Linked DNA regions of Homo sapiens: regions 1 and 3 are each linked to region 2. Evidence: promoter capture Hi-C in 16 types of primary human blood cells and fetal thymus (Javierre and others, 2016). All regions are on one chromosome and are shown on one strand. The core of a region is centred on a gene start or on the middle of the fragment in contact, and the rest is flanking DNA. Distances in the headings are between cores, read along the strand shown.

The links. The method cuts DNA at HindIII sites, captures the fragments that hold promoters and counts their contacts. A CHiCAGO score of 5 or more calls a contact.
Region 1: a fragment that was not itself captured here is called in contact with the fragment with the promoter of ASH2L in region 2 in 1 of 17 cell types (fetal thymus); the score reaches 5.3 in fetal thymus.
Region 3: a fragment that was not itself captured here is called in contact with the fragment with the promoter of ASH2L in region 2 in 1 of 17 cell types (naive CD8 T cells); the score reaches 5.5 in naive CD8 T cells.

The regions. Positions count from the first base shown.
Region 1 is chr8:38,790,239-38,792,938 of GRCh38, reverse strand. The region is part of intron 2 of TACC1 (transforming acidic coiled-coil containing protein 1); the gene reads right to left. Among named protein-coding and RNA genes, the nearest start is that of TACC1, 4.4 kb to the right of the region's middle. The HindIII fragment of the contact is 1,142 bases long and covers 800-1,941 here.
Region 2 is chr8:38,104,258-38,106,957 of GRCh38, reverse strand. ASH2L (ASH2 like, histone lysine methyltransferase complex subunit) reads right to left here and starts at 1,429. Exons shown (of 16, transcript NM_004674.5): 1 at 1,220-1,429; 2 at 514-580. The coding sequence starts at 1,407. RefSeq lists silencers at 1,042-1,241, 1,572-1,661 and an enhancer at 1,332-1,461. The HindIII fragment of the contact is 22,171 bases long and covers 1-2,700 here.
Region 3 is chr8:38,998,215-39,000,914 of GRCh38, reverse strand. All of the region lies in intron 1 of ADAM9 (ADAM metallopeptidase domain 9), which reads right to left. Among named protein-coding and RNA genes, the nearest start is that of ADAM9, 2.6 kb to the right of the region's middle. The HindIII fragment of the contact is 252 bases long and covers 1,172-1,423 here.

The DNA.
Region 1 (2,700 bases), core at 121-2,620, 690 kb before region 2:
AACCCCTAAGTCCTCCATAAACACACATGCAAACACAAAAGCCAGGCATGGTAGCTCACGCCTGTAATCCCAGGACTTTGGGAGGGTGAGGCAGGAGAATCCCTTTAGGCCAGGAGTTCGAGATCAGCCTAGGCAACATAGCAAGACCCTATCTCTACAAAAAATAAAAAAACTGGCCAGGCGTGGTGGCTCACGCCTGTAATCCCAGCACTTTGGGAGGCCAAGGCGGGCGGATCACGAGGTCAGGAGATCGAGACCATCCTGGCTAACACGGTGAAACCCCGTCTCTACTAAAAATACAAAAAATTAGCTGGGCGTAGTGGTGGGCGCCTGTGGTCCTAGCTACTTGGGAGGCTGAGGCAGAAGAATGGCGTGAACCCAGGAGGCGGAGCTTGCAGTGAGCCGAGATCGCACCACTGCATTTCAGCCAGGGCAACAGAGCGAGACTCTATCTCAAAAAACAAAACAAAACAAAAAATTAGCCAGGCATGGTAGTGTGTGCCTATAGTCCCAGCTACTCAGGAGGCTGAGGCAGGAGGATCATCTGAGCCCAGGAGTTGGAGGCTGCAGTAAGCTATGATCATACTACTGCACTCCAGTCTAGACATAGATCCTGTCTCAAAGCAAAACAAAACAGAGGATGAACTTGAGATTGTACCTCCTCAAAAGTCCATTCCTAGAGGATGTTTCTTCACCAATATATTTCCCAGCAAAGAGAAAGACCACCACAACAGCAGCAGCATTAAACAACTTTAGTGGGAGAAAACAGACAGATAGCAAATACAGACCAGCCCAAGCTTTACAGCTACCAGTCTGGTTATTTCCAGGAAATATCTTTAGCTAGAGTTTTATTTTACCAGTAAGCCTAAAACCTGCTTCTATATGTGGCTTCAAAAAAAATCTACAACCTTATCCGCCACTTAACTCCTGGCATACAACTCTTAGGAAGAGTCATTATAGAGTTTAGATACTGCAAGTTCCTAAAGCAGTTCCAGTATAAGAAAAGTCATTTCAAAATAGTCTTAGATGTTTCCCTGAGTTCAAAGAACTATACAGAAGTCAGCACAGGAGCCATGGGTATGGTAAATGTAGCCCACACGTTTGAGGGCCATTATGTACCAGGAAGCCAGAATGTTTACATATTTCAACTCCAACTCCTGACTAACTCCTCGTAAATCATTCTTCCAGAATGATTTAGTCTTATATAATTTATAACTGCGGTCCAACCATGTCTTGGAACCACAAAAGTATGAAAGACTATCTTTACCAGGAACAAAACAATCAATAATTTTGGGAGAAAGGGAACTTATCCAGTCCCAGAAATTAAACTTCAATATGAAATGACTCTGAAGGGCTTTCTGCCCACTGAAATCCTCTCCAGGCAGACCTGTGCTCTGGCTGTCTTTGCACATTTGCTGTGTATGTGTGACAAGGCCATTGGCGGTACTCTGGACTAGCTCCGGATGTTGCACCCAAGGACCCTGGAAGTCAGGGTACGACCAGGTTGATGAGCAATCATCCTATTGTTTAAAGACCCTAAACTGAAAGCCTTCATAATATGCAGGGTTGTTTCCTGGACTGGACACTCCTCTACCCCTACAATTACAGTCTGCATTCATGAACTACCCCATAGAGCCTTCATGATCCATAAACATTTAAAAGTTTTCCTTTTAGAGAGAATGAAAAAAATGTGAGAGTCACTGGTACAGGAAGGACCAAACAATTGGGTCTCTGTGGTTTTGGGGGCCTAGGTCATCCAGGCCTCTATTCAATTGGCAAAGAATCTGGCGGGATGAATCAGTCTAGCAGCTGACAAAACGATGAGGAAGGGCCGCCCAAGCTGATGGCAATTCAAAAAGGCTTTCAAACAGCTCCTTAACATGTGTCTTATGAGCTTTATTTAAATTTGATGGAAAGGCCACCAAATAGTTCTTTCAAGCTTCAAAATCTCCCTTCTGATCTGCCAATCTTTACGGAAGAAAAGGGAAGCTATGAGGAATAAGTGTTATCTTCATCACTGAGAGTGCTACACAGCTATGCGTCGCACACAAATTCTCCAGTATATAAGCTTGCCTATTCCCATGTTGTCCCTGCCTAGAACAATGGCAAAATGCAGCCTAGGGCAAGTTGAGGGTATTGCTGAATTCTCAGCTGGGTAAGCACAGCATGGAGCTATCAATTTAAAGCAAAACCAAATCAGCTTTTTGCTGATGTCATTTTACCAATAATTCCAGCTCCATCATGCAGTCTATTACCAGAGTAACTTGACTTCCCTAGGCAACCTACGAAGAAGTTGCTAAGCAATAAAAATACTTATTAGGGAGAGGAGAAAGTCACAATCAGCACAAAGTTTAGGTAGCTAGATAACTGAAAGCTGGCGCTGCCACTTCAGGGTGACAGTGCCAGATACTGGAACAGAGAAACCACATAAAAAGGACTTCCATCCTAGAGTCCCTTCTCCACACAGCAGCCCAGGGAGCCTTTTACAAAAGAAGCTGAATCACAATCCCTCTGTTCAAAGCTCTCTGTTGTGGGCTGAATTATGTCTCTCAAAATGATATGTTAAAGTCCCAACTCCTAGTACCTATGAATGTGACCTTATCTAGAAATAGTATCTCTGAAGATGTTACCAAGTTAAGATGAGGTCAAACTGGATTAGGGTGGGCCCTAACTTCAACGACTGGTGTCCTCACAGGAAGG
Region 2 (2,700 bases), core at 180-2,679:
TTTTAAGAGACGGGGGTCTCCCTATGTTGCCCAGGCTGGTCTCAAGTGATCCTGAGGTCTCAGCCTCCCAAAGTGCTGGGATTACAGGCATGAGCCACCGTGCCTGGCCTGAATGTATTTTTGATTCGCTTAAAAATGTAAAAACAAGGCCGGGCGCGGTGGCTCACGCCTGTAATCCCAACACTCTGGGAGGCTGAGGCGGGAGAATCAACTGAGGTTAGGAGTTCGAGACCAGCCTGGCCAACATGGTGAAACCCCGTCTCTACTAAAAAGACAAAAAAAAGAAGCCAGGTGTGTTGGCAGATGCCTGTAATCCCAGATACTCGGGAGGCTGAGGCAGGAGAATCGCTGGAACCCGGGGGGAGGAGGTTGCAGTGAGCCGAGATCGCGCCACTGCATTCCAGCCTGGGCGACAGAGCAAGGCTCCGTCGCAACAAAAAAAAAAAAAAAAGAAGAAGAAGAAATAACTAAAACAAACCCTATTTTGTCTTGCAAACAACTAAAAATACTTACTAGTGTATCTTTTCCATTAGATGATTCTGTCTCCAAGCCACCGCTTACATCGACCAAGTTTGCCTCCCTATAAGATAATGAAAGCGCTCAAGTAAGAATTCTCAAGACAAACCTCAAAATGCCTATTCCCAAAAATGATGATCAAATTACAGCCGAACTTCATACTCCTGCAGCTTTTTCAGCTAAGCCTGATCTCAGACTGGATGCCCAAGGTACTGTCAGGATACTGAGAAGGTGGACATGTCAGACAGTCGCGGACCCACGGAGCACAGGGAAGCCTAACCGGCCTTTACAGTCAAATCTACCTGGGTTAGAGTTGGTCCTGGGAGAGGTTCAAAGAGAGGCAGCTCTCCCACCCTGTTTTCAGAGTGACCGTTACTTCTTCCAGTCTGGCACTGCAAAGTGGTTTCTTTTCTGGAATATGTGAAGGCCTCCCGTTAAAGTGTGAGCTACCAGCTTCCTGCCAGGGTGCAAGGATCAGAGATAACGACAGGAGCCTCAGCTCCCACCGCCCGTGAAAGGTGCGGAAGGGGCGTTATCCGAGATATGCTTGAGAGGGGACGGGCCAAGCGGCGCAGAGGCAGGGCGAGCCATTGGCGGCGGGGCCTGGGTTCGCAGGGGGCGGGCGGCAGGGCTCCAGGAGCCGCGGGATTCGCGAGGGGCGGGCCTCCCTCCCGCGTCTTCCTCGGGCGGCAGGACCTCTTACCCGCCTTCAGCCTCCCCGGAACTGGGCTCAACTGTCGGAGCAGCAGAGATCCCCTCTCCAGGAGGAGCGGCTGCTCCCGCTGCCACCGGCTTCATCTCCCCCTCTTCTGCCCCTGTTGCATTTGCGACCGCTCCTGGGCCAGGCCCGGCACCCGCTTCCTGGCCAGGTCCTGCTCCTGCCGCCGCCATCACGGCCACCCCTGGACTTCTCGCGAGAATACTCTCTTCTCTCGCGCGCGTTGCTGTGTGACGCTGTAGTCTTCAAACAGAAAAAGCCCGCGGTGCGTCCACCGCCTGCCTGAGGAAGCATAATTCCACGACCGCTTTAAGGCCAGGCGCGCGGGCAGAGGTGGGCCGGCCTCCCGCGCCGGCGGTGGCCGCGGGCCTGGCAGGCTGAAGGTGGAGGAAGCTAGATGGTTAGTGCGGCTCTCTGGAGGACTTCCTTTCGAGTCAGGGACTGACGCGGCGTATTTTCGTGGCTACGACTGGATATTCTGCGCAGAAGAGGGTCCTTGAGAGCGCTGGCCGTGCCGTGCCGCCAAACACTCCTCACCACCGAATGTGGGAAACGTCTTCCTTGGAGTCTAGCACTCCCTGCCCGCCCCGGATGGAATTTGGTTTTCTGCGCAGGGTCGCCCCTTGGAGCCCGTTTCCAAATGATTTTAAGAGGGAAGGGAATCTAGGGAGGCCGATTCCAGGGGCGAGGGTGGAAAACCCAGGCCGGGCAGCCGAGGAGCGGCGTGGGCACTAGAAGCGGCTCGCCGCTTCCTACTGTGAGAGGCGGAAAGCGAAGCCCCGGGGTGTGCCGGGGCACTCGGAATGTAGACAAGTTTGGTGCCCAGCGAAAGGAAGAGGTGTGGACTGAAAGTACGAACTTGGGAAGTCATCAACAGTAGCTGGTGGCTGGCATCAGTGGAGTGAGTTGAGTCTTTCAGAGCCATGGTCTCCAAACTCGAGAATGCAAACCTCTGAGAGTGTTGCGGCCAGGAACGTTTTCAGGACACCAGTGTTTATCCTATATCCTAAAATGTTGCCTAACGATAATACACTCTTCTCCCGCTTTACACAAGAACGGCGCACCCCTCGCCAATCCTCAGTCTAATCTTACTGTGATGTGTCCACCGATAGTGTAGGAATCTCTGGGCCACTGGACGCCATGGGAAATACGTAGATATTGATTTCCCAATTGGTTCTCAATTATTGGTTTTCAACAAAATTGAAGAAAGACCTAACTGAGTTGCCAGGTTACATTTTTAAAATTGATGATAAATACTTAAATCAGGGGTTGGTACTCCAAAGAGAAGCAGGATGCTTGATCTAAGTATCTCCTCCCAAATACGTAGTATTGTAGCAGTTTTAACATATGGTCGCAGAATTTTGTGTTTTCTTGTTGTTGTTTGTTTGAGACAGAGTCTCGCTCTGTCGCCCAGGCTGGAGCGCAGTGGCCCGATCACGGCTCACTGCAACCTCCACCCCAGGTTC
Region 3 (2,700 bases), core at 48-2,547, 890 kb before region 2:
TATCATTTTCTTTTCTTCCAGTAAGGTTTAGTAACACAATACTTACATTACCATAAACATAAATAAATACAAACAGAACTGCATATTTTAAAACGGACCAAGTTAATTTCTAAGGTTCCCTAGCTCACTCTTAAAAGATGTGATTTAAGGCCAGGTGTGGTGGTTCACACCTGTAATCCCAGCACTTTGGGAGGCTGATGCAGGAGGAACACTTGAGCCCAGGAGTTCGAGACCAGCCTGGGCAACAGAGCAAGATTGCCTCTCCACACACAAAAAAAGTTTTTAATTAGCCAAGCATGGTGACACACCCCTGCAGTCCCAGCTACTCAGGAGGCTTAGGCAGGAGGATTGCTTCAGCCCAGGAATTCGAGGTTACAGTGATCTATGACTGTTCCACTGCACTCCAGCCTGGGCAACAGAGCAAGACCCTGTCTCTCAGAAAGAAAAAAAAAAGATGTGACTCAAGCAGTGTCCCACATATGATCACTTAGGGAAAATAATCTGATTAAAATAACAACATGAAATGGAAAATAAACTACAATAATCTCTCAATATACAAACAACATTGTGCTACCCAACTTTAGTTGGGTCCACATTAGACCCATTCAAAGACTGTGAGAGAGGCTGGGGCGCGGTGGCTCATGCCTGTAGTCTCAGCGCTTTGGGAGGCTGAGGTGGGCGGATCACGAGGTCAGGAGGTCGAGACCATCCTGGCTAATACCGTGAAACTCCATCTCTACTAAAAATACAAAAAACTAGCCAGGCATAAGGCTGAGGCAGGAGAATTGCTTGAACTCGGGAGGTGAAGGTTGCAGTGGGCCGAGATCGTGCCACTGCACTCCAGCCTGGGCGACACAGCAAGACTCCATCTCAAAAAAAAAAAGACTGTGAGGGATTAGCTACTGAGATACAAAAGGACTGCATTCATTTATGAGGCAGTTCCATAGCGCTGACTCAAAAGGATGGCATGACTCCAAGCCTCCAGTATATGTTACATACCAAAAAGGAAAAAGAAATATGAGGCTATGTCATATGTTTGAGCTTGCGGATATTCCCAAGAAAAAGCTTCCAGTTACTTAGAGCTTGCATCTTTTGGGGGATTCCATAATAAATTCTATTATAAACCCAGATTTTTTACAAAGAGCAAATATAAATTTGGTAAGTTAAAGCTTCAAGTGCTTTTTGAAAACTGTCTTGGAAACCAGGAACTAGGTTTGTACATATTTTAATTATATATGCTTTCTTTTTTACTTAAAAGGTTGAAAACCAAATCATTCTTAAATGTAAAAGGCTACATTCTCCTATCGGCACAAACACAAACATATCAAATTCAAATATTTTGCTGGCATCTGAAAACGAGATTAGTATGGACCTAAGTTCTTACTACACAAATGATTTTACAGTGACTCACCATGAGTAAGCTTTCAAAGTCATTTTCTTTAGAATGCCAGTCTTTGTTTAAAAAAAAATTCTAAATCTGTTCCTCATAATTACTACCTTAGAAAATCAGAAGAGGTTTCATACCTGATTCCGCTTATTTTTTACAATGACACAGTTACCTTTGTCAGTTTAAAAAAAAAAAAAAAGTTTACTGAAAGTTAGCTGTTTGGAAATTATACTGCATTTCCTCATTGAGACAATGTTATAAAAGGTAGTAAAAATCCTATAAAACCTAATTAACTCCTAATGTAACTGACGTGTGCCTGGTACCTCAAATTCCTCTTTCGATCCTGGAAAATGTTTCAGTGCACGTTTTAAACACCTTATACTGCAAAAATGTGGTCAGCTGATTTTGTATGAACGTTCCCCGAGAGAAACAAGAGTTGACTCACTGCACACTATTACAAAAGCCTCTTAACCGGTGTCCCAGCCTCTAGTCTCTCCCTCCTAGATTCTATCCTCCACCGTGTTGCCCGTTTTCTTAACAGAAAATGAGATTAGGTCGCACCCCTACTTAAAACCTCCACTGCCCAAAGAACTTCCTACGGGGTGAAGTCCAAACCCCTTAGTTCAGCATAGAAGACTCTTCCCAACTGGTAACAACCTACCTTAGTTTGATCTTCCATCCCTCCCTTTTATAGTCTGCATGAAGACATATTGACATTTTTATCATTTCCTAAAAAGTCATGTTCTTTCATACGCCCCCCGCCCCACCATACTCTTGCAAAAACTTTCCTCTGCTTAGAATGTATCTACTATTCTACTTGAAAAATCACCGATGTAGCCCAGTTCAAATATTATTTTCTCTAAAAATCTTCCCCAACATCTCTCAGATGCGCTTAGCATATTTGGTCACCTTCTGCCCCTCTACAATCAACTGTGTGGTGTTTATAGGAGTTCCATAAACGGTGGCTAAACTTTGAAGGGGCATACACATGCCGAAGTGAGGAGCTGGCCAAAACCACAGTTAAAGACCATCAGGATATTCCACTCACCTAATGCAGGTCGGTAATGACTGACAATTTATATTAACATTTAAAAATACAGTCTTATTTACATTTACAAACACAAAAAAAAATCACAGATTAATAAAACTCCGGATGTATAATCGTCTTCACCTTAAACATCGGTGAGTGTTAACCATCTAGAATACCACCGGAAAAGTAGTTTTAACCAGAAGAAATTTGGCAACTTCCCATTCAAAACATTGTCAGAGTTTCAACATTTCCACACTGGGGCAAATTTACTTAATTTCAAATA